2 separate regions of the Homo sapiens genome follow, and region 1 is linked to region 2. The links are contacts of gene promoters, found by promoter capture Hi-C in blood cells and fetal thymus (Javierre and others, 2016). All regions are on one chromosome and are shown on one strand. The core of a region is centred on a gene start or on the middle of the fragment in contact, and the rest is flanking DNA. Distances in the headings are between cores, read along the strand shown. Region 1 overlaps UFL1-AS1 (UFL1 antisense RNA 1). Region 2 holds the start of MMS22L (MMS22 like, DNA repair protein).

The links. Contacts are between HindIII fragments. The CHiCAGO score rates a contact against its expected background, and 5 or more counts as called.
Region 1: a contact is called between a fragment that was not itself captured here and the fragment with the promoter of MMS22L in region 2, in 4 of 17 cell types (non-activated CD4 T cells, naive CD8 T cells, naive B cells and 1 more). The highest score is 6.5, in non-activated CD4 T cells.

What each region holds. Positions count from the first base shown.
Region 1 is chr6:96,503,626-96,509,352 of GRCh38, reverse strand. All of the region lies in intron 1 of UFL1-AS1 (UFL1 antisense RNA 1), which reads left to right. Among named protein-coding and RNA genes, the nearest start is that of UFL1-AS1, 15 kb to the left of the region's middle. The HindIII fragment of the contact is 5,498 bases long and covers 1,611-5,727 here.
Region 2 is chr6:97,281,634-97,286,930 of GRCh38, reverse strand. It overlaps MMS22L (MMS22 like, DNA repair protein), which reads left to right and starts at 3,715. Exons shown (of 25, transcript NM_001350599.2): 1 at 3,715-3,835; 2 at 4,378-4,617. The coding sequence starts at 4,454. RefSeq lists enhancers at 3,439-3,498, 3,879-4,138. The HindIII fragment of the contact is 13,882 bases long and covers 1-5,297 here.

The DNA of each region.
Region 1 (5,727 bases), core at 3,110-5,609, 780 kb after region 2:
AGGGGCACAATGCCACCAGTCTTTGCCACAGCATAGCAAAAGTAACCTTTACTCCAGTTCTCGATAAATTTCTTATCTCCATCTGACACTACCTCAGCCTGGACTTCATTGTTAACAACAATTTAACAAGTCTCTAGGAAGTTCGAAACTTTCCCTCATCTTCTTGTCTTCTTCTGAGCCCTTCAAATTGTTCCAACATCTGCCCATTACCCAGTTCCAAAATCGCTTCCACATTTTCAGGTATCTTTGTAGCAATGCCCCACTTCTCTGGTACCAATATTCAGTATTAGTCCATTCTTGCTATAAAGAACTACCTGAGACTGACTAATTTATAAAGAAAAGAGATTTAATTGGCTCAGAGTTCTGCAGGCTGTACCAGAAGCATGGCTTGGGAGGCCTCAGGAAATTCACAAGCATGGCAGAAGGTGAAGAGGAAGGAGGCACGTCTCACGTGGCTGAAGCAGGGGGAAGAGAGAGGGAAGTGTGAGGTGCTACAGACTTTTAAACAACCAGATCTTGTGAGAACTCACTCACTATCATGAGAATAGCAAGGGGAAAATCTAGCCCCATGATCAAATCACCTTCCACCAGGCCCCGCCTCCAACACTGGGGATTGCAATTCAACATGAGATTTGGGTGGGGATATGAATCCAAACCATATCAGTATGGTGGGCCAAACAATAGCATCAGGCTGAGCATGGTGGCTCATGCCTGTAATCACAGTACTTTCGGTGGCCAAGGTGAGTGGATTGCTTGAACTCAGGAGTTTGAGACTAGCCTCAGCAACATGGTGAATCCTGTCTCTACAAAAAATACAAATATTAGTGAAGTGTGATGTTGTATGCCTGTAGCCCCAGCTACTTGGGAGGCTGAGGTGGGAGGATGGCTTGAGCCCAGGTGGCGGAGGTTGCAGTGAGCCAAGATTGTCCCATGCACTCCAGCCTGGATGACGGAGCCAGATCCTGTCTCAAAAAGAAAAAAAGCACCAAAAGACCTCCATGTCAAATTCCCAAAACTTGTGATTTTTACCTTATATTATAAAGGATGGGATAAAGTCAAGGCTCTGAGAGGAAATGTTTATCCTGGATTATCTGAGTCAGTCCTAAATACAATCACATGTATCCTTATAAGGAAGGAGAGACAGTTGTGAGACAGACACAGAGAGGACAGATACACAGAAGAGGAGAAGGTGATATGATGTTGCCTCAAGCCAGAGAACACTGGGCACCCCCAGAAGCTGAAAGAGGCAAGGAAAGAAGAAATTTCTGTTGTTTTAAGCCACCAAGTGTGTGGTCATTTGTTACAGCAGCCACAGAGAACTAATATAGATGGATTGAGCTTGGATATCAGAAAATAAATTTCTTCCTTTCAGACATGGGGTAGAAAAGTAAGGATGTTCATACACTGATTATCTTGGTGGAGGTGATGGTGGTGATATTGTAGGTAAAGTAATTACAGACTATTCATTTTGTATGTAATAATGCATCAAGAACTTTTCTGATTTTTTATTTGTTAGAAAACTCAGAGTTTAGACCAAATCCTAAATATAATAGAAAACATTGAGTTTTTAAAAAAACTTTTGACCATTTATACCAACCAACTGTAAAGCTTCTTCTTTTATATCTTTCAGCATTTAGTTATAAATAATGAATCAGGAAACAAAGGGCCAATAATGACATAATGAACTCCTTAAGGTACGCATAATGTTTCATAAGTTAAGTTAGAAATTTCCAATTGCTTTTTCTAAAATGGAAACAACTGTATAACAAGATTGCTTCTTTGAAATACTGTAAAAGTATAATGTTCTAGATTGTTATATACTGCAACATATTAAAGCCTAATGGATTTTCCTCATGAAAATCTGTAATACTGCTATGATTGAATACTTCTTCAGAACTTGGTAAGCATGTTGCTTTTTTAAAATCTTGTATTTGTCATAGTACTTATTCTGGCAGGTGGGGGGACATTTGGGTGATGCTTGTTGTTAACAGAAGGACGAATTAGTTTTGCAGCATGAATTGGCATTCTATAAAATTCATTCACAAAATAATTGCTTACTGGGGATTTTCATCATTATAACTGAGAAAGAGGAGGCACATCTGTGCTCTTTTGCAATATGAGACAGTCATTTTTCAAACAAATCATACATGCAACAATAGATAGGAATATGGCGGGAAAAAGATTCAGTGGTTCTATCTGAGCCCGTGATTCCAATACCAGAGGCAGAATTGAGATTCAAGTCTATAACTGTACCAGGAAAAGTCATAATAAGGGTATAGGGGGTTGATACATTTAACTTCTGTCTATGACAGCTTTCTTTGGATAATTTGGTAGAAAAAACAACATGCAATAAAAACATCTTTAGAAGTCTTAGATTATTACTAATTATTTATGGGATTGGTTTCAGAAATTTGATACCTTAACATCTTAAAGAAAAAGGAAGGCCAGGTACATTGGCTCAGACCTGTAATCCTAGCACTTTGAGAGAGCAAGGAGTGAAGATTGCTTAAGGCCAGGAGTTCAAGACAAGCCTGGGCAAAAGTGTGAGACCCCCAACTCTACAAAAAACAAAACAAAACAAAACAAAAAACAAAAAAACCTAGCTGGATATGGATATGGTAGCACGTGCCTGTAGTCGTAGCTACAGGAGGCTAAGGTGGGAGGATTGCTTGAGCCCAAGGGTTCAAGGCTACAGTGAGCCATGATCAGCCCATTGCACTCCAGCCTGGGTGACAGAGTGAGATCTTTTCTTTAAAGAGAGAGAGACAGACAGAGAGAGAAATACTCTCAACAGGCAGCATGAAATCATGTTCTAAATCCACACTTCTTTTTTTTCCTGAAGATATTTGTTCAATAACATACGAGCCAAATAATGGAAACTGACATCGTGTGTGTGTGTGTGTGTGTGTGTGTGTGTGTGTGTGTGTGTGTGTGTTGGGGAGGAGCTAGGTATGCAGGAGAACCAACCACCAGGGGAATCTCCTAGTACTTCCTGAATCCCAAAGGTTCTTTGCCTCTAATATCTGACATCCTTCACTTCCTTTTCCTTCTCTTTGCAACCACCAGCAACTTGACTTACGTGTTACTTGTGTTTAGGTACAATGTATTAGTTTTGTTTGTTTGTTTTTGTTTTGTTTTTAGATGGAGTTCTCTGTTGTTGCCCAGGCTGGGGTGCAATGGCGAGATCTCAGCTCACTGCAACCTCCACCTCCCAGATTCAAGCGATTCTCCTGCCTTGGCCTCCTGAGTAGCTGGGATTACAGGCATGTGCCACCACGCCTGGCTAATTTTGTATTTTTAGTAGAGACAGGGTTTCTCCATGTTGATCAGGCTGGTCTCGAACTCCTGACCTCAGGTGAGCTGCCCGCCTTGGCCTCCCAAAGTGCTGGGATTACAGGTATGAGCCATCGTGCCCAGCCAATGTCATTAATTTTTATACCGACAGATATATATAGCACAGTGCCTTGAGGTGAAATATTAAATTGCCACTTTATACATGGATTATTACAATTGCTATTTAACTGTTTTGAGGATTCCAGTTTACATTTTATATTTATATTAAAACCATAATTATATTGAATGTAATTCAAGTGATGCCATTTGTGCTTTTAAAATCATTTAAAATGTTTTGTGTGTTCTAAAATGTTAATGACTAGTGGTCAAATAAATGAAGTATAGACTCCTAAAAATCTCCTGAAATAGCCCAACCCAATCTATCCCCAAATTAGTGTCCCGATTGCAGCCTAATCTCCTCAGCACCCTTCATGAAGGCTGGCATTCAGCCACATGCCACATTGTTGCCCTTCTGGAAATATGCCAGATTCTTTCAGGGCACGGAATATTTGCAAAGAATGTTTTACCTTTCTGAAATACCCTTTCCTTCTTCTTCAGTCCTGGCAAAGTTAGTTTCTTCCTCTTATTTTTTCATTAGGCTTTATCTACTCTCCTCTTAAACAATGTAAGGATCTTAGAAAACTTTACCCTTTCCACTTAAATAATTTTTAAACTTTATTCTATTATTTTTTACTCCCCAAATTCATTGTAAATTTATCCAAAGTTTAACATCTATTTTCCTCTATGTTTTATTTTTCATCTACTATTTCTTTCTTTCTTGGTTTTATTTTTTCATTGTAAAAAACTAAGGTGGACTTGTTAGTAGTTTTTTCTGCAAAAGGCTATTAGTAGTAAAACTATTATAGTCTATATTTGTCCAGCATCAAATCTACCAGAATGGCTAAAATTAAAAAGACTGACAGTAACAAGTATTGATGAGTATGTGAAACACTGCTGGTGGAAATATAAGTAAATACAACAATTTGGAAACATTATTTGGTATCATCAACTAATGCTGAACATAATAAACAGCTTATACCCCTAGGTAAAATCCAACAGAAATGCGTACATATTGTGGCAGGTTGAATAATTGTCCCCCAAGGATGTCCATATCCTAATACTCAGAACCTGTGAATGTTACCTTATATGACAAAATAAAATTTGCAGGTGTGATTAAGTTAAATGTGTTGAGATGGGGAGATTATTCTCAATTATCTGAGTGGTCTCAATGTAATCACAGTGATCCTTATAAAAGGGATGCAGGAGAAGTCAGAGTTGGAGAGAAAGCAATCGATGACTGAAGCAAGCAGAGCATGTAGTGATGTGGCCACAGTTCAATGAATACTAAGTCTAAAAGCTGGAAGGATCAAGGAACAGACTCCTCCTGGAGACTCCAAAAGAAATCAGCCCTGGCTGGGCGTGGTGGCTCATGCCTGTAATCCCAACACTTTGGGAGGCTGAGGCGGGCGGATCACGAGGTCAGGAGATCGAGGCCATCCTGGCTAACACGGTGAAACCCCGTCTCTACCAAAAAAATAGAAAAAATTAGCCGGGCACGGTGGCGGGTGCCTGTAATCCCAGCTACTCGGGAGGCTGAGGCAGGAGAATGGCGTGAACCCGGGAGGTGGAGCTTGCAGTGAGCCGAGATCGTGCCACTGCACTCCAGCCTGGGCAACAGAGCGAGACTCCATCTCAAAAAAAAAAAAAAAAAAAAAAAAAAAGAAGAAGAAATCAGCCCTGCTGACACCCTTGTTTTAATCCCATGAGCTCCATTTCAGGCTCCGACCTCTAGAATTCTGAGAATGGGGACTTAAATTGCTTTTGTTAATGGTAGTCCCTATGCCTAGACAGTGTAAGTGCTCAATAAGAATTGTTGAACAACAACAAACTGTGTGAATGAATGAATGAGTGCAAATGTCTTTATTTCACTCTTATTTGGATGGGTAAATTGGCGTGGTATAGAATTCTAGATTGATGACTATTTTTTTCAGCACTTTAGAGAGTTTTCTGGCTTTTCTTTTATTTTCCCAGCCATTATCTCTTTGAATACTGTGCCTCCTTCATTTTCTCAATTCTTCCCTTTTGTAACTGTTACTGGACTTTCTAGCCATGGTGTCTTTAAATCTGTCCTTCATTTTATCCATCTGTTTATTTCCTCCTGTTGCTCTCTGGATATTTTGTTCAGATCACATCCAGTTCATTTATAGTTTTGTTTAACTCATCCACACAAAGTGCACAAGTCACAAGGGTGAATCTCAACAAACTATTACAAAGTAAACACATGCTGCAACTAGGTCAATAAAATTCTGTCATTGCCAAGAAGCTCCCTCATGCCATCTTCCAATCACTATGGCTTTCTTTCTATCTAGAGGTAATCATTCCTTTAATATTTCC
Region 2 (5,297 bases), core at 2,466-4,965:
TATGTCCCTCTGTCCTATTTTTATGCTTTATTTTCAATTAAATTCCTGGGTAAAGTTTTGATATTTGCTGATTCACCTCCCATTTTCTATATGACCCACTCCTATCAGATGTTTTTCCCCAACTACTCAACTTAAACAGCTTTTATCAACATTAGTAATGACCTATTTCTTGCCAATACCAATGATTAATCTGTTTTCCTTTATTAGCTTACCCATTCTTTCATAAAATACTTCTCTTGGATTTCATGACAGACATCATACCATACCACACACACTTGATTTTTCTTCTGTGGACTAGCCTTATTTCTTGCTTTTCTTTGCTGGCATTTTCTTGATTACTAGCAAGCTGAATATCTAAAAGTTTTTAAGAGTTTTAGCTTTTACATGTAGGTCTATGATCCTTACTGGGTTAAATTTTATAATATGAGGTAGGTTCATTTTTAAGTGTATCAGTATCCAATAGTTCTCTCACTATTTGTTGAAAAGACTATCCTTTCACCATGGAATTACCTTTGCCAAAAAGCAGCTGATCAAACGTGTATGGGGGCCTGTTACTGGAGTCTCTATTCTTTTCCACTGGCTATGTCTACCCTTAGATCAAAATCATACTGTTTTGATTATTGTAACTTAATGGCAAGTCCTGAAATTAGGTACTGGAATTCTTTCAACACTATTCTTACTCAAAATTGTTTCGGTTAATCTAGGCCCTTTGCATTTCCATATCAGTTTTGGAATGCATTTGTCAATTTCTACAAAAGAAAGTTCTCTGGGATTAGGATTTTGATTGGCAGTCCTTTGAAGCCATAGATAAACTTCAGAAGAACTTTTAATAATATTGAGTCTTCCAATTTATGATTATGCTATCTCATTCTATTTACTTGAATATTCTTGAATTTTTTTCAGCAATATTTTGGAATCCTTGGCAAACAAAATCTGACGCATATTTTGTTAAATTTAAACCTTGTTTATGTCATTAAATGGTGTTGTTTTCTAAACTCTAATTTTCAAATTGTCTTTTCATGTCTATAAAATACAATTAATTTTTGTGTGTCACTGAACCCCGCCACCTTGCTGAACTCATAGTTTTTATATATATTTGTAGAGATTTTTTTAGGATTTTCTATATGAATAATTATGTCATCTGAAAATCAAGACAGTTTTACTTCTTCTTATTCAATCTATATGACATTTATTTCTTCATCTTCCTTATTGCATTGACTAGTTACCTCCAGTAAAATGTTGAGAGAAGTGGAAAAAGTGGACATCATTGCCTTTTTCTCAATCTTAGGAAAAGAACATACATTTTTATAACTAAGTATGATATTAATAGCAGGTTTGTCATAGATATCACATATAAGGTAGGGAGTTTTCTTCCATTCTTAGTTGGCAGAGAGTTTTTATCATGAATAGATGTTGAATTTATCAAGTGATCTTTCAGTGTCTATTGAGATGACAGTTTTTCTTTTTATAGACTTGATATAATGAACTGATTACTTGTAGAAATTTGAATAACCTTGCATTCCTAACATGAATCTAATTTTCTTGTCATATGTCATCCTTTTTGTTTGTTTGTTCTGAGGCGGAGTCTTGTTCTGGAGTACAGTGGCGCGATCTCGGCTCACTGCAACCTCCCCATGCCGGGTTCAAGCGATTCTCCTGCCTCAGCCTCCTGTGTAGCTGGGACTACAGGCACATGGCGCCATACCCGGCTAATTTTTGTATTTTTAGTAGAGACGAGGTTTCACCATGTTGGCCAGGCTGGTCTTGAACTCCTGACCTCAAGTGATCCACCCGCCTTGGTCTCCCAAAGTGCTGGGATTACAGGCGTGAGCCACTGCACCTTGCCATCATATGTCATCCTTTTTATGTACTGCTGGATTTTGCTTGCTAACATTTCTGCTTTTATGTTTGCATGTGATATTGTATTGTAATTGTCTTTTGTCAGGTTTCGATACCAGTGTGGTGCTAGCCTCATAAAACAAGCATCCAATCTCCTAATTTCTCTAAGAGTTAGTATAGAATTGGTATTACTCCTTCCTTAAATGTTTGGGAGAATTTAATAGTAAGGCCATTTGGCCTGGAGAGTGTTTGTTTGTTTTGTTGCTTTTGAGAAATGGTGTTGCTCTGTTGTCCAGGCTGGAGTACAATGGCACACTCACAGTTCACTGCAGCCTCGAACTCTCCAGCTCAAGTGATCCTCTCACCTCAGCCTCCCTAAGTAGTTGGGACTACAGATGAGCACCACCACGCCTGGCTAATATTTGTATTTTTTTTGTGGAGACAAGGGACAGGGTTTCACCATGTTGCCCAGGCTGGTCTGGAACTCCTGGTCTCAAGGGATCCACCTACTTCAGCCTCCCAAAGCCACTGTGCCTGCCCTGGCCTGAAGTTTTCTTGTAAGAAGTGGTGTGTGTGTGTGTGTGTGTGTGTGTGTGTGTGTGTGTGTGCAGAGAGAGAGGAGGGAGGCTTAACCAAAGATTCTGAGTACTACGATAAATACAGAGATACTCAAATTTTCTTCTTTTGTTGATTTTTGACAGTTTGCGTCTTTTAAGGAATTTGTCCATTTCACCTATGCTTATTGGCATAAAAATGTTCATAATGTTCTTTTAATATCCTTGTCCTTTTAATGACTAAATTTCATAGTGATGAAACCTTTTTAATTCCTGATACTGATAATTTGTTTATTTTCTTTATCAGTTTGGGTAGGGGGGTTATCAATTATATTGCTCTTTTAGAAAAACAACTTTTGCATGTATTTCCTTCCATTTATTTCATCCCATTTATTTCTACTATTTATCATTTCATTCATTTTGCTTGCTTTGGTTTCAATATGCTGGGGGTTTTTTCTAGTTACTTAAGACAAAAGTTTATTGAATTGAGTTCTTCTTTTTAATGTAAGCAGGTACTGTTACAAATTTTAGTGTTTTCATTTTAATTTAATTCAACGTATTTTCTAATTTTCCTGTGATTTTTCCTGATTCACAGGTTAGTTAGAAGTATGATTCTTAATTTCCAAATATTTAGAGTATTTCAAGTATCTACTTTATTTCTAGTTTAATGCCATTATGATCAGACTATACACTTTGTACGATTTAAATCTTTTTAAAGTTGATGACATTTGTTTTATGGCTCGGAATATGGTATCGCTTAGTGAATGTTTCATGTGCACTTGACAGGAGTGTGTATTCTGCTATTGTTGGGTTGGTCACCTATAAACGTCAATTAGGTCAAGTTGGTTAGTGCTTTCCAAGTTTTCCATATCCATACTAATTTTCTGTCTACTTGTTCCATCTGTTACAGAGAAAATTAATTGTTGCACTTGCCTGCCTCACAGTCCATGGACAAAAGGCATCTGCATTCTAACAAGAGTTGCTGGCCCCAGAGCGGGAAGAGGGGACGGCGCGACTGTGGGTGTGAACGAGGCACTCACTTCGCACTCACTGGAGTAAATATCTTCTCTTTGGTCCGGCCAGAGGATAAACCCATAGTCCTTAAGTCCTCTCCTCCGCCTCAGCAGCAGTTCTGTTTTTTTTTTTTTACCAGGCCCCGCCTTTCAGCCGAACGCACCAATTAAAGGTACAAAAAAAAAAGTTTCTCAGTACCTCGTCCCGGACTGACGGACTCTCGCGAGAATTCGTGGGGCTCCGACTGTTTCCGCGCAGATATCGCGAGGCGATTGGTAGCCGGGGGAGGGCTGCGCCGTGGCCCCGCCTTTCCGGAGCGCGGGCGCGCGGTGGCGGGAATTTCGCCTGTTTGCGGTTTAGACCCCAAAGATTCCTGTTGGTGGTCTGGGTCACAGGAGGCAGGTTTCGGGAGCTGGAAATGTGAGCGGGTACGACAGGCACCGCGGGTAACCGACGCCCCGGGTCCTTGCTGCAGCCGGGTACGCGGGATACCGGCACCCCGCCTTCTCCGCCCGAGTGCTGCCAGGCGTGGGCCTGGTGGGTCTCGCCTCCTCCTTGGAGGGTCGGGGTTGGCCCTAGGGGTTGCTTTCCTAATTTCCACCCCGAGCCGGGGAGGGAGCGTTCTCCACCCTGCTGCTGGGAAACGGGCGGAGAGTGGTTTAGAAACGTTGCGGAGGGCGCAGTTCTAGGCAAGCCCGGGACGCTATGTCCTGCAGACATTTCTTTGCTTTTCACCTTGTCCTGGGCTGCAGAGCCCGACTTAGTGGCCGGATTTCGAGGTCCCTGCCACAGCCAGTTGGTTGTGCATTTTGTCTTAAGTTCTGACAGCCTTGATGGACGGAGGGCGAGGGGGAATTGGGAATTTGGCCTCTGGGTTTGTTCGTTTGTTTTTCCTTCCTGCTGGCGGACGTCTTGAGAACTTTCTGAAGTAATCCCCACTCTCTCGGCCCCACCCCCCCCCCCCCAACAGGAATCTCTTCACACCTTCTCTTTGGAGCCCTTAATGATACGACGAACCCCAAGTGTTTCAGAACATGAAGTAAACAATGGAGAACTGTTCTGCTGCATCGACGTTCCTGACTGACAGCTTAGAGCTGGAGCTGGGGACGGAATGGTGCAAACCTCCTTACTTTTCTTGTGCTGTTGACAACAGAGGAGGAGGAAAACATTTTTCTGGAGAATCCTACCTCTGCAGCGGAGCCCTTAAGCGGTAGGTAAAACTCAGAGACATTTTCCCTCATCTGATTATTCACCAGTTTTTTAGGAATGTTAGTTATTTCAGCCCATTAAACTTTGGTGTTCACCAAGTCGTGTTTTATAAATCAGCTTAGTATATCATAAGGGTACAAATGATTATCAGTTCTGCTGGCTTCTTGGTAAGGGCATATCTAAAGTATTTGGGGTATTAGGGAAAACTTCCTTGGTAACTGATGTTCCCTTACTGTAGGGAGCTGGGCACTAATTTTTCTTCTACTTAAAATGAATTCCTAACTATCTGAGCCTTTTGCAGTAGTATTTCCTTCTAAAGAGTGTGATAATATTCTAGAGCTTTCCAGTAATATTTAAGAGAGACAAACATTTTTTATTGCCCCTGTTCCTTCTAATCCTACCTGCACATATAGAAGTGTATAGACTTATTTTGCCTTGGGCAGGTACATATATATTACAGTAAAACTGTTCTTGAAATATTTTGGTAATACCTGCTGAGGCAGTTTCAGTGAGGAAACTATTTTTGTTGACCTTATAGTTGTACCTTGTTAGAAATCTTAAATAGAATACTCAACTTCATTAGTTGGATACTATTCTCCAGACATGGCTCAGAATAACTGTTAGCAGTTTTAAAATTAAATGTCCCCTCAAAGGATGAAATTCTACAACTGAAGACTACTG